Linked DNA regions of Homo sapiens: region 1 is linked to region 2. Evidence: promoter capture Hi-C in human tissues and cell types (Jung and others, 2019). All regions are on one chromosome and are shown on one strand. Each heading gives the region's core, a stretch centred on a gene start or on the middle of the fragment in contact. The rest is flanking DNA. Distances are from core to core; before and after follow the strand shown.

Evidence for each region. The method cuts DNA at HindIII sites, captures the fragments that hold promoters and counts their contacts. A contact is called where the count stands out against the background at its distance.
Region 1: a contact is called between a fragment that was not itself captured here and the fragment with the promoter of PKD2 in region 2, in 1 of the 25 tissues and cell types used here (hippocampus).

What each region holds. Positions count from the first base shown.
Region 1 is chr4:86,942,418-86,948,756 of GRCh38, reverse strand. It overlaps AFF1 (ALF transcription elongation factor 1), which reads right to left. Exons shown (of 21, transcript NM_001166693.3): 2 at 186-259. The coding sequence starts at 223. Among named protein-coding and RNA genes, the nearest start is that of AFF1, 11 kb to the right of the region's middle. The HindIII fragment of the contact is 7,842 bases long and covers 1-5,239 here.
Region 2 is chr4:88,005,013-88,011,064 of GRCh38, reverse strand. PKD2 (polycystin 2, transient receptor potential cation channel) reads right to left here and starts at 3,430. Exons shown (of 15, transcript NM_000297.4): 1 at 2,737-3,430. The coding sequence starts at 3,331. RefSeq lists silencers at 2,548-2,687, 2,738-3,667. The HindIII fragment of the contact is 15,667 bases long and covers 1-6,052 here.

The sequences.
Region 1 (6,339 bases), core at 69-2,568, 1.1 Mb after region 2:
AAAAGAAAATATGTAGCCAGTCCAACAAGTTTGACTTCATGTAGAGAAAACTGAAAATTTCAAACATTTTCTTGCACCCGTGAGTTCTTAAGTTGCAAAATTGAAAAAGACCAAACTTATTCATTGAAAAGTAGATTATAAAATTAAATATCAGCATGTCTTTGAATCATAGATTCTATGCTTACCTGTTGCCACTGCTGTTGACTCTTTCTGTAAATGCCATTGTTTCCAGTCAATGCAAAGTGGCTAGTCTGTTCATCTGAAAGAGAAACAAAGAGTAGCCTGTGAACATTAGCCTGTGAGTAAATTCAGGGATACGCATGACCTGTAAGAAGCTTTATTGGAGACAGAATTCCAAGTTCTCATTTGAATTAGAAAATGGTTCTCCAATTCCCAAGTTGTATGAACAAACTATCTAGTATATATCAAAGGCCAATTGCACTTTTAACTGTGAGGCTGCTTCTCAAAGCCATTTCAGCAAGAAAACAATGTGCACAAGTTTACCATAAGGAGGAGGGGGAGGAGAAAAGGAAATACCATTCCCCTGGTGCCTACTTTGTGCCAAGCATTGTGTTAAATATAAATAAGCCCTTTTAAAAATGGCATTTCATTAATACATTACAATAAAGTTGCAAGGCAGATACTAATATCCCATTTTATAGTTAAGAAAATGGAGACTCAAACACACACAAAAAAAAACAACCAAGAAATGTAGACTTAGTTTTAAGTAATTTGCCTAAGGTCACAGGTTGTGTCAGCATCCTCACTAGAATTAAAAGGAAGAAAAGGTAAGAGTGTCAACTATGCAAGAGAAAGGAAATCAACAGGTCATTCTCACATAAGAATGCAACACTTAAGAAAAGTGGGTCCCAGTGACAATCAATCTTAAGATTTTACTTCCACTCATTAAAGGTACTTAATCAAAACAAAAAAAAAACAAACAAAAACCGAAATAAAACAACTATTGGGCATTCTTTCAAAACAAGACTGAATTTGGGGGAAAAATTATTATCCAATCTGGGCAGATAGTCTTGGTACTATCTTGGGTAACTCTGGAAACAACCTCTCTTTATGGTTAACACTGTCTACAGCTGTTTCCTTTTCCCTCTCTAGTGAGTATTTATAAATTGACTACACTTATCCTAACTTGCATTAAATAGTTTGTTTTACTTTTCAAACATCCTTAAGGCAAAGAAAGGTATGTTACTAAATTATCTTAGTACAGACTGGACAAACCATTTGATACAAATGGAAACACACATTAAATTTGTAATCATTTTAACTTGCCTCTGTTTAAGAGGCTGTTACAACTTTGGCTGAGGTTGAAACACTGAATATAGTCCTTCACAGCTCTATTCTTACTCCCGATAAGGTCTTTTATCTCCCTCTCCATGAAATTTAAATTGCTGACTTGCTAACTACATGTTTCCATACTAGCAGACATAATTTGCCACTCTTTCTCCTCTCTCAAAAGATTGCAGCATGGATGTTAAAATATTCTAGTTAAACTCACACTAGCAGAGATCTACTTTTCAGGGTCAAACATGTGTCACTCTTCTGACCAGCAATAGTGGCCCCCTAGGCAAGTTTTCTCAATTCTCCAACTCAATCCCCACTAGTCTCCCTTCCCTTCCCTCACCACTTACTATCGCTCACTTTCTCCTTTTTCTCTTTCTCTGCATCGCTAGCTCTACCCCTGCCTTTGCTGCTCACACTTTCTCTCTCTTGACTTGCAGGGCTGGCACACAGTAAGTGATCAATAAAACACTATTGTATTCCTGTTGGCATTATTCTTCATAACACTTCTGTAGAGGCATCTGAAGAGTCCCTGATGGCAGTTCCCCACATTACCCTCCCAGTGAAGATGCTCAACCTGCTTGCAACCCAATAGCACCCACCCCTAGGGCTCTTTGGTGGAGAGTGATAACAGGAGAAAAGGAGACAGGTTGGGCTGTTGGGTGGCTATCAATCTGAGAGGGGTCCTGAGTTCACTTGTTTGTTGACTGACTGACAGAACCAACAAATGTATCCTGAGCATCTGCTGTAAGCCAGGTACTAAGAATAAAGAGAGTGGGCCGGGTGTGCACCTGTAATCCCAGCACTTTGGGAGGCCAGGGTTGGCTGAATGCTTGAGCTCAGGAGTTCAAGACCAGCCTGGGCAACATGACAAGACCCGTCTCTGCTAAATATAAAAATAAATAGCCAGGTGTGGAGGTGCATGCCTGTGTTCCCAGCTACTCTACTTAAGAGGCTGAGGTGGGAGGACTGCTTGAGTAGGGATGCAGGTGGGGGTGGGTGGGGGGTGGGGGTGATGTAGGTTGCAGTGAGCTGAAATTGCACCACTGCCCTCCAGCCTGGGTAACACAGCAAGGCCCTGCCTCAAAAAACATAAAAAATATAGTGAAGAAAAGACTCTTGCTACCATTGAGCTTACATACTACAGAAGGTAAGCAAAGACACATTCAGTAAAATATATAGATGTTAGAAAAGCAAAATGGGAGTGCAGAGAGGAATCAAGGTAGGGTATTGCGGTTCTACGTAGGGTGGTCAGAGAACACAACATTTGAGCAAAGACTTAAAGTGAGGAGCAAGCCATAGAGATCTGTAGTGGAAAAGGGTCCTCGGGACTGATAAGTAGAAAACTGAAGGAGTGAGCAACCCCCCAGGTCTCACCGCTCAGGAGCACTACAGATACATCATAATGAGATGCCTTAAAACATCAAAAAGAACCACATGGGTTAATCTAAGCAAGATCTAAATAAAATGTACAATGTGAGCCAATTTTTTGTTTAATGCTTTAAGTTTATGCATACACACAAAGTTTGGAATAGCATATACCAAACTGTTAATAGTAGCTTTCTGGAAAGGGAAGAGCTTTGGTGAAGAGGCCAGAGCAGGAGATTTAAAAGGGCATTTTCACCTTTTATTCTGTTATGCTATCAATCTTTCAATATAATCCTCCATGGGCCAAGCATGGTGGCTCATGCCTGTAATCCCAACACTTTGGGAGGCCAAGGTAGAAGGACTGCTTAAGTTCAAGATCAGCCCTGGAAACACAGTGACACCTTGTCTCTACAAAAATAGAAAAATTAGCTGGGCATGGTGGCACATGCCTGTAGTCCTAGCTACTGAGGAGGCTGAGGCAGGAGGATTGGTTGAGCCCAGGAAGGAGGAAGCTGCAGTGAACTGTGATCTGTGCCACTGCACTGCAGCCTGGGTAACAGAGACCCTGTCTAAAAAAAAAAAAAAAAAAAAAAAATTGGGAAAGGCTGGGCAAGGTGGCACATGTCTGTGGTCCCAGCTACTCAAAAGGCTAAGGTGAGAGGGTAGCTTGAACCCAGGAGGTGGAGGCTACAGTGAGCTGTGATCACACCACTGCACTTCAGCCTGTGTGAAAAAACAAGGCCCTGCCTCAAAAAAAAAAAAAAAAAAAAAAAGGAAAAGAAAATAAGGAAGATACTAACTTGGCTCTATTTAAAAACAGAGTAGTGCTGTACAGCAGAAAGCAGCTAGGCTCAAGTGAGCTGCATGATCACCTTGGACAAGTTAAGCTCTATCAGCCTCCATGCCCCTATGTGTAAAACAGAGACCTTCCTACCTTCCAGAGTAACTGAGAAGCATATATTATATCACCTAGCTAAAATACCTAGCACACTGACACATGGTAGCAGCTATATCCACACTAAATTTTATGTGAATGATGCAAACTTTATTTCATTTTGGAATGTTCCATGGCAGGAATGTACATTACTATCTAAGTGACCTTTCTATAGTCCTCCCTCTCTTGCTTACCAAATTTATTCAGAAATTAAAATGTCATGTGTATCAAACTGCTTTTCTTCCTCAAACAATTCATAATTCAAGAGTGTGTATACACATACATGTGAGTATATACACATATATGTAAGTTTTATGGACACTCACACCACATACATACATAAATAGAAAAAAAGGGAGAAGATGAATATAAAAAGTGACTCAAGATGTTTTCAAATATTCTGTTCACTTAGGTCATTAAGTGCTTCCAAACCTAGTACACTCTGGGGAACCTACTCTCAAGAGTCTTTACCACATGCTGGTAAAAGACCTGCTTTGCAACTAGCTATAAGACCTCGAGGCTGGGCGCCGCGGCTGTCTGTAATCCCAGCACTTTGGGAGGCCGAGGCGGGCAAATCACGAGGTCAGGAAATCAAGACGATCCTGGTTAACATGGTGAAACCCCATCTCTACTAAAAATACAAAAAAAATTAGCCAAGCGTGATGGCGCGTGCCTGAGGCAGGAGAATGGCGTGAACCTGGGAGATGGAGCTTGCAGTGAGCTGAGATCGCGCCACTGCACTCCAGCATGGGCGACAGAACAAGACTGTCCAAAAAAAAAAAAAACCTCCAGAAAATTATTCTTCTTAAGGCCTCAGCTTTCTCATCAGTAATACAGGGGCTTCATGGGATTGTCGTCGGGGACATAATGTTTGTAAAAGTTTTAGCACAATGACTGGCTCATGGTAAACATTCAATAAATGATAGTGGTTGTTCTAGTTATTTTTTTGGCTGGCCAAACCATGTGCTGGGGCAATTCCACACACTAGGGAAGACTTTTTTTTTTTTTTTTTTTTTTTACAGGGTCTTGCTCTGTCACCCAGGCTGGAGTGCAGTGGCACAGTCATGGCTCACTGCAACCTCAACCTTCTGGGCTCAAGTAAACCTCCCACCTCAGCCTTCAGAGTAACTGGGACTACAGATGTGTGCCACCATGCCTGGCTTATTTCATTTTATGTTATTATTGTTTTTTTTATTTTGGGTAGAGTTTCGTTCTTGTTGCCCAGGCTGGAGTGCAATGGCAGGATCCTGGCTCACCACAACCTCCGCTTCAGGGTTCAAGCGATTCTCCTGCCTCAGCCTCCCGAGTAGCTGGGATTACAGGCATGCACCACCACGCCTGGCTAATTTTTTTGTATTTTTAGTAGAGACGGGGTTTCTCCATGTTGGTCAGGCTGGTCTCAAACTCCCGACCTCAGGTGATCTGCCCACCTCAGCCTCCCAAAGTGCTGGGATTACAGGAATGAGCCACTGCACCCGGCTAATTTTTGTATTTTTTGTAGAGACAGGAGTTTGCCATGTTGCCCAGGCTGGTCCCGAAAATGCTGGTATCACAGGTGTGAGCGACTGAGCCCAGCCTGGGAACTTTTCAACTGGACAAACAGAGCAAGCAGCTCCCCAGTCCCCGGACCACAATCTAGTTTCCAAAGGAGAATATGAGAAAAATTACTCTGTTCAGAGGCCTGTAGGCTAGTTAGTCCCTCGTCAACTATACTTCTCCTTTACCCAGGAATAACAGTCTCTTGGTAACAGGCAATGTGTTAGGGATAAGTCATGGGACATACATTCTGTTTTAGTCTGATTCTCTAGAACTCTACCCCTAGTAGAGAGATCTACCCCTGGGAGAGATCATAATCTCCCAGGACCCCAAACTGACCTGATCATCTACAGTTCCTCTAGGCTCTCCAATGCACATGGACCTCACAAGCTCAGAAATCCATAAAGGAATACAATTTCCCCAACTATCTCTTCTACACTTTGAAGTTTTGTTCAACGGGGTTCTGGTGCTACGCTACACTCAAGTACACATCCCACATATTGTTGGCTCCCTCTGATCATTAGGTGCTCAGCTCCAATGACATTCTCAGAGAGGCCTCCACTGACTCTCAAAGCTAATGTGACAATGCTGTCCCTCAAGGACTCTCTCCAGCCAACCCACAACTCTCTACTCCATTATGCTTATTATATGGGTTAGGAATGTGTTTAGCTGTAAGTAATAACTGTTTAAATTAATAGAAGTTTATGTTTCTCCTACAGCAAGTCTAGAAGAGGGTGGCTACTTGGCATACTGTTAGCTATGCAATGAGGCATCAGGAACTCTGACTTTTTCTGCTTTGCCTATTTAGCATGTTGTCTTCATGCTTGCCATGGTCCATCTTATGAACGAGAGATCTCATTCATATTCAAGGCACGAAGAGGAGGAGAAGAGGAAGGTGTGGCTTTGCCTGACATATTTGTCTATTTTTGCCAAAAATCTTTACCATCAAAAAACCAGAACTAGGTCACCCAGGTTCTTCTAGCTTTAAAGGAAGCAGGTAAATCAAGATACAAACTGTCACCACTGGCTGAGAACAAACATGATCTATTACCTAAGACTGGACAAATGTAGTCTCTTAGCAATTAAAGTTCTTTTAGTGACAACAAGAACAAACAGGAATGGCTACTGAGTAGGAAAATAGCAGTGCTGGCCACACTTCTATTTTTTCATAGTACTTACTACTTACTATCTGGAGTTAACTTATG
Region 2 (6,052 bases), core at 2,181-4,680:
CCACAGGTCTTCTTGCCTCCTTTCTCTCTGCCAAGCTCTCCTGTACACCATGCTGCTGACACAATTTCCTTTCAGCATGTTCTGTTCCTGCTCAGAAACTTTCAACTCCTTCCTAATATTTAGGGCTACATTCTCAATTCCTTGATTAGATACAATGCATACAGCAAACAGGCCTCAACAGGCCTCAAACATGTCTTCTTTCTTTACTATTTTACTTCTGCTAAGAAGATAGATCTATTTACTGTAGAAGGAGCAAAATCGACCATTTGTTGTCCATCTTGGATTCATGTCATTAAACAACAGACCAGAGCATGGTGAAGCTAGAAAGGACCTTGGAAGCTAGGTTCAATTCTTCCATTTTATAAATGAGGAGCTCAGGCTCAGGTAGTTTGAGGGAGCTATACAAAGTCACAAAGGCAAGAGACTTCCAGGGAAACTCCTGACCACTCCAAACTTCAGTCATTTCTCCCACCTTTAAAAATTGCAAGTTACTTTCTGTTCTGATCCTAGGGCACTGCTTACATAGTGCATATAAGATTTCTGTCATCAGTATCCAAAGGGGGCAGGGGGAATCTCAACCCATTCATGGCTATTTATTTTACATTTCTGGGTTTTTGTCCATAGGAAAACAGTGATATGCTATTCTAGTTTATTCATAGCAGCTAGCACAGTGCTATCTTCACAGTAGGTGCTAAACATTTTAAAATGTTGCTTATTTAATAAGTGACAAGAATATCAATTATATTTCTTCATAAAAGAAAGGAATAACAATTTATTTAAACATTTTATATAATTAAAACTTTTCAGCTAGGAGCAGCAGCTTGCACCTGTAATCCCAACTACTTGGGAAGCTGAGGTGGGAGGGCAGCTTGAGCCCAGGAGTTTGAGGCCGCAGTGAGCTACGTTTGCTTCCCCGCACTCCAGCCTCAGTGACAGAGTGAAACCCCGACTCTTAAAAAAAAAAAAAAAATTCCCGATTCCTGAGTCTGCTCTCCTACAAATCAGACCATTGACACACTTTGGCTAGAGGTTTTATGACTATGAGCTTATTCATTTTGTTTCCTGAAATTTTCCTTTAAAAGAAATAAATTTACATACATACTCATATGAAATATATATTTTATTTCTCTATATTCTGTTATTGAGTTTATTCAAACAAGGTTAGGGGTGTTATCAAATGCTTAAACTGAGTTAAAAGGATCATGCAACTTACCATTATTTATTAACTTAAAAGGAACTTCTCTCTCACTTCAGTGAATATTTTTTAAATGCACATTTTAAATGGTGTAAAATAACATAATTAATCCAGTTTTGAATCTTAAAAAGTGTTAGTGTTTTATTAATTTACTCACACAGGTTATCCGAAAAGGATCTTCTGTTCCCCATCATGCTTTTAATAAAATTAACTAGTATAAGAATCTCCATAAACGAAGTACCAAAATGTTTACATTTATATTTCTGAAGCGCTAATAACATGACAAATACATGCTGCACATTTTATGTCTTAACTCACTTAATTCTCCCAAAGAGTCAAGTCCTAAGCGTTATGATCATCTCTTTAAAAAAAAAAAAAATCCAAAAATTGGGTATCAGAGAGGATAAGTAACTTGCTCAAGGTCGTACAGCTAATGAGTGGTGGAACTGGGATTTCAGTGTAGGCCTGACCTGGTTTTAATCACACTGCTGTAACAACACCTGGATTGTTTTTGTGCAAGACTTTCAAAACTGACAGAAGGAGAAGAACAAGAAAAACTCAACTGAGAATGGAAACTCTTAAAAATATAGATTAAAATAATTTGGAGGGTAAAAGCAAATGAAATACTTTCCCAAGGATACCTCTGACAAAATTTGTAAAAAGAGAATTTCCTCTGGTACTAGAAAATTCATGTCCTCTTACTGGGCACTGGCAAATTTGAAAATTCCTCTTCTGCCTTTTGTAGAGCTGGGCGCACTGGGCTCAGACACATTTATCAGCTGCTATCTGGTGACTTCATCATTTTGGTGGAATTTCAAAGAACATTAATTTAGTTATTTAAAAACATACTTCAAATTTTTTTAAAACAATGTAATCTTTCCTTTGCAACTGTTTTTAGAAAAATGTCTAGAATTAGAAACGGCCAAATAACTTCACGATATTATTTTATTCTATTTGTGGTGTTCTTAACAGCTCCCACTCCTCAAAACAACCACACACATCACCAAAAAAATGCACCAATGACAATCTGCCACACTCCTCCCACAACTTGACATTATATGCACTGTACTGCTACCCTTTTCAGCCCGGGACAATGGAGTGTCCAGGCAAGAAGGAAACCACGGGTGACTATAACATTTTCCTTTAGATTTTGTGACATTGGCAAATATGCAGTTGCAACTACCATCAGTTACACAAGTAATGTTCATTTTTTCCTCTACAAGAAAAAAAAAAACAAAACCCAGATGTACTCTTTCACTCTAATTAGGCTTTCACTAATTTTCAGTAAAAAAGACTATGGTGACATATCCTGAAGAAGGAGGTATCCAATAAATATGCACCAACAAAAGAGCAGTGGAATTCCGCGCTGGGTACCGGAAATAGGGCAGCACTAGCGGAGGTGGGGAATGCGCTTCCAAGGGAGGCGGAACGCAGAGGGGATGCGAGATGGAGCCCGGGGAGCTGCCGCAGCGGGCGATGGCCCCGGCCGGCGCCGGCCGTTCTGGTTCGTGCATCTGCCGCTGCGGGTCGCGCGCTCTTACCTCGCAGCCCGCGAACCAGCCTCTCCGCCCAGGCCACTCGGGGCGGCTGCCCTTCCAGGGGGAGGTGGCGATGCAGCGGGTCCCCGCCGCCGACTGGGCTGGGGCACGGCGGGCCCTGGTCCTCTCGCCGGCGCCGCCTCCCGCTCGGGTGGCCCGCGCCGTGGTAGCCCCCAAGCCCCCGGCTCCGCGCGCCCACGGAGCTCACGGCCGAGGAGGCGGCCGACCTCCGGCTGCCCGGGCGCCACTCTACGTCCATCTCCACCACCATTCCGCCTTCTTCCCCTTCCACCTCCTCCTCCTCCTCCTCGGCCTCGAAGCCGGGGTTATCGCGGCTCCACGCCTGCCGGGAGCACGACGAGAGCGGAGGAGAAGGGGAGGCCGCGGCTCCGGCCGGGGGGTCCCGCGCGGCCGCCTGCCGGATGCGCTGCATCTCGATCTCCAGGCCCCGCTGCTCGCAGAGGCCGCCCGGGGCGGCGAGGCTGGCGCCCACGGCCGCGCAGCCAGCCATCAGCCGGCCCGGGTCCGGCGCGCGGGGCGCGGGCGGCCGCTTGGCGTCCCCGGGCTGCTGAGGCTGCACGCGACTGGAGTTCACCATCGCGGTCACTGGCGTCCGGCGCGCGGGTGCGCGGCGCCGCGCTCGGCGCTGTGCGCCTCAGGAGCCATGTTCCTTTCTTCCCGGCGCCCGCCGCCGCCTGCTCCCCGCCCCCGACCTCCCCGCGGTCCCGCGTCCTCTCGCCCGCCCCTTTGGCCCGCCTCCCTCTGGCCTCGCCCCGCCTCGCCCATCCGCCGCGGCGCGCTGAGCGGGGAGGTGCGAGGGAGCCGCCCCCGCGGTCTGCGCGCTCGCCCGGCGGCTCCCGAGTCCGCGTTCCAAGTGGAACCGGAGCCCGGGCGCGGGCGCCCACGTTCCATTCCCGGGAAGGCCTGGGAAGGGAGGGAATCGCTCACCCGCCAGCCCGCCTGCAGGGAAAGGGCTCCTGGAGCTGTCGATGCCTGCCCGACGCTGAGATAACTCTTGGGTCCCAGTTATCCACCAGCCACTTCTGCCTCGATTCACCAAAGGGCAGGGAAAGAACCTTTTGGTGAGATGGTGTGAATTAGCGACATCCAGCCTGAGCTGAAGTCTCCAGCGGGTCAAAGAAATCTTTCCATTTGCAAACTACCAAGGCTGACTTGCTGTGCATTTGGCGGGCCTCCTGCCCCTGATTCTGCTGGTTTGGAGATGCTTTCTCGCTCTTTGGTTGGCTTCTGTCTCCACACATTGTGGGGATCCCAGGGATTCGTCATAGGACTCTCGGATCGCTGGTGCCTCCACTGTGATCTCCGGTCTCCCTGCGGCCAGCACTGACTTCTAGCAACAGAATCCTGCATGAGGGCCTAGGCACAGAACTTTATTTCCACTCTTCTGAACACATCTAATGTGATGCTCTGCAATTGTCTGAAATTTATCCTACCCTAAGTCATTATCTTGTCCCCTTCTCTGGAACCTGCTTCACTTCCCGTATCCCAAGGTGAGGTTTGGGGCTTCGCTGTCCTCCTCACTTCCCAGGCCACTCTTCTTCATGGAAGCCTCGCGGTTTACCCTCCACCGCCTACACCTTATCTTCTTGTTACTTTTGCCCCACAGATATCACCCTGATATGATCTCTGTTTCTCACTCCTGCTGGCTTGATCTTATGTCTTGCATTATTCCGCATTAGAACAATTGATCCCTGTCAACTCCCATCTCTATTCTCCACGTCGGTGTCCTCACTATTTCCAGGTTATATTGCAGAACCAAAGCTGCTTATTTGTCACGTTGATGCTTAGACACCTCTGTGGGCTTCTGGCAGCTGAAAGGATAAAATTTAATTTCTGTGGTTTGGTTTAGTAAATTCTCATAATCTGCTCCTGTATTTGTTTGTTAGGGCTGCCATAACAAAGTACCAGAGACTGGGTGGCTTAACAGAAATTTATTTGCTCACCTTGTCTCTACAAAAAATACAAAAATTAGCCAGGCTTTGCGGTGTGTGCCTTTGGTCCCAGCTATTAGGGACGCTGAGGTGGGAGGATCGCTTGAGCCCGGGAGGCAGAGGATGTAGTGAGCCAAGATCGGGCCACTGCACTCCAAGTGACAGAGTGAGACTCTGTCTCATAAAGAAAGAAAGAGAGAGAGAGAAGAAAGAAAAAAAGAAGGAAGGAAGGAAAAAGAAAAGAAAAATTGTATTTTCTCACGAGGTGTTGGCAGAGTTGGTTTCTTCTGAGGCCTCTCTCCTTGGCTTGCAGATGGCCCCGCTTTTGTGTCCTCACGCCGTCTTCCCTCTTCCCTCTGTATGCGTCTGTGTCCTAATTGTCTATTCTTATACATCATATTGGATTAGGGCCTACCCTCATGACCTTGTTTTCACTTCATTACTTCTGTAAAGACCCTGTCTCCAAGTATGGTCATGTTCTGAGGTAATGGGGGTTAGGACTTCAACACAGAAATTTTTGGGGGGACACAATTTAGCTTTAACAGCTCTTAATGTACTCCTCTAGCATGGCATCCCATGCCATCCATCCACCTTAATGAATTATTCATTTGTTCTCTAGGCACATATAACATGCTGCTAATATTTAGGTAATTATGGCTACCTATTACCTGATCCTGCAGTTTATTAATTTAGATATTCATGTTCTTCTCTTAACTGTGAGCTTCTCAAAGGCAAGACTGGTGGGTCTGGAGCACAGCCCTAGCTCATGCTATTCATCAGTTCATTCTGAAGACATTTCCTGTGCCCTGAATTAAGGTCTGGGCATGTAGAGAGGAGTATGATACAGCCTTGGCCCTCAAGAGGAGACAGACCAAAAATGAGAGATTACCAAGTGGGTTAAGGGTTATGGTGCCTGTCATCCAAGGAACTTCTGAAGCTGAAGATGTCCTGAATAGCACCAGCAGCACTGCAGAGTCGAAGGATTCTTACAGACACATTCCAACAGAGGAGAGCCAGGCCTGGAAAGAGAATGCAGAATCTGAGCCAAAGGGTCCTCTGGAGAATAGGCCTAGTACAATGTTTTCAAATTGTGATCAGAAGATCTCCAGCATCACTTGCAGCTCTTGCTAAAAATATAGATACTGGGTCCACATTCCAACCTTATTGACTCAAAATCTTCCGGATTCCAGTCCTGAAATTCTGAATCTTCACAGGGGATTCTCAGGCATCCAAAGTTTGAGAAGCACCAATGTGTTCCAAATGGAAGAGGTTTCATAAATATTTCCCCCACATTTCTATACTTCACTGTTAGCACTAGTGAGACAATCATCTGGAATCCCAGACTTAGAAGAAAATTCAGTGGTCTT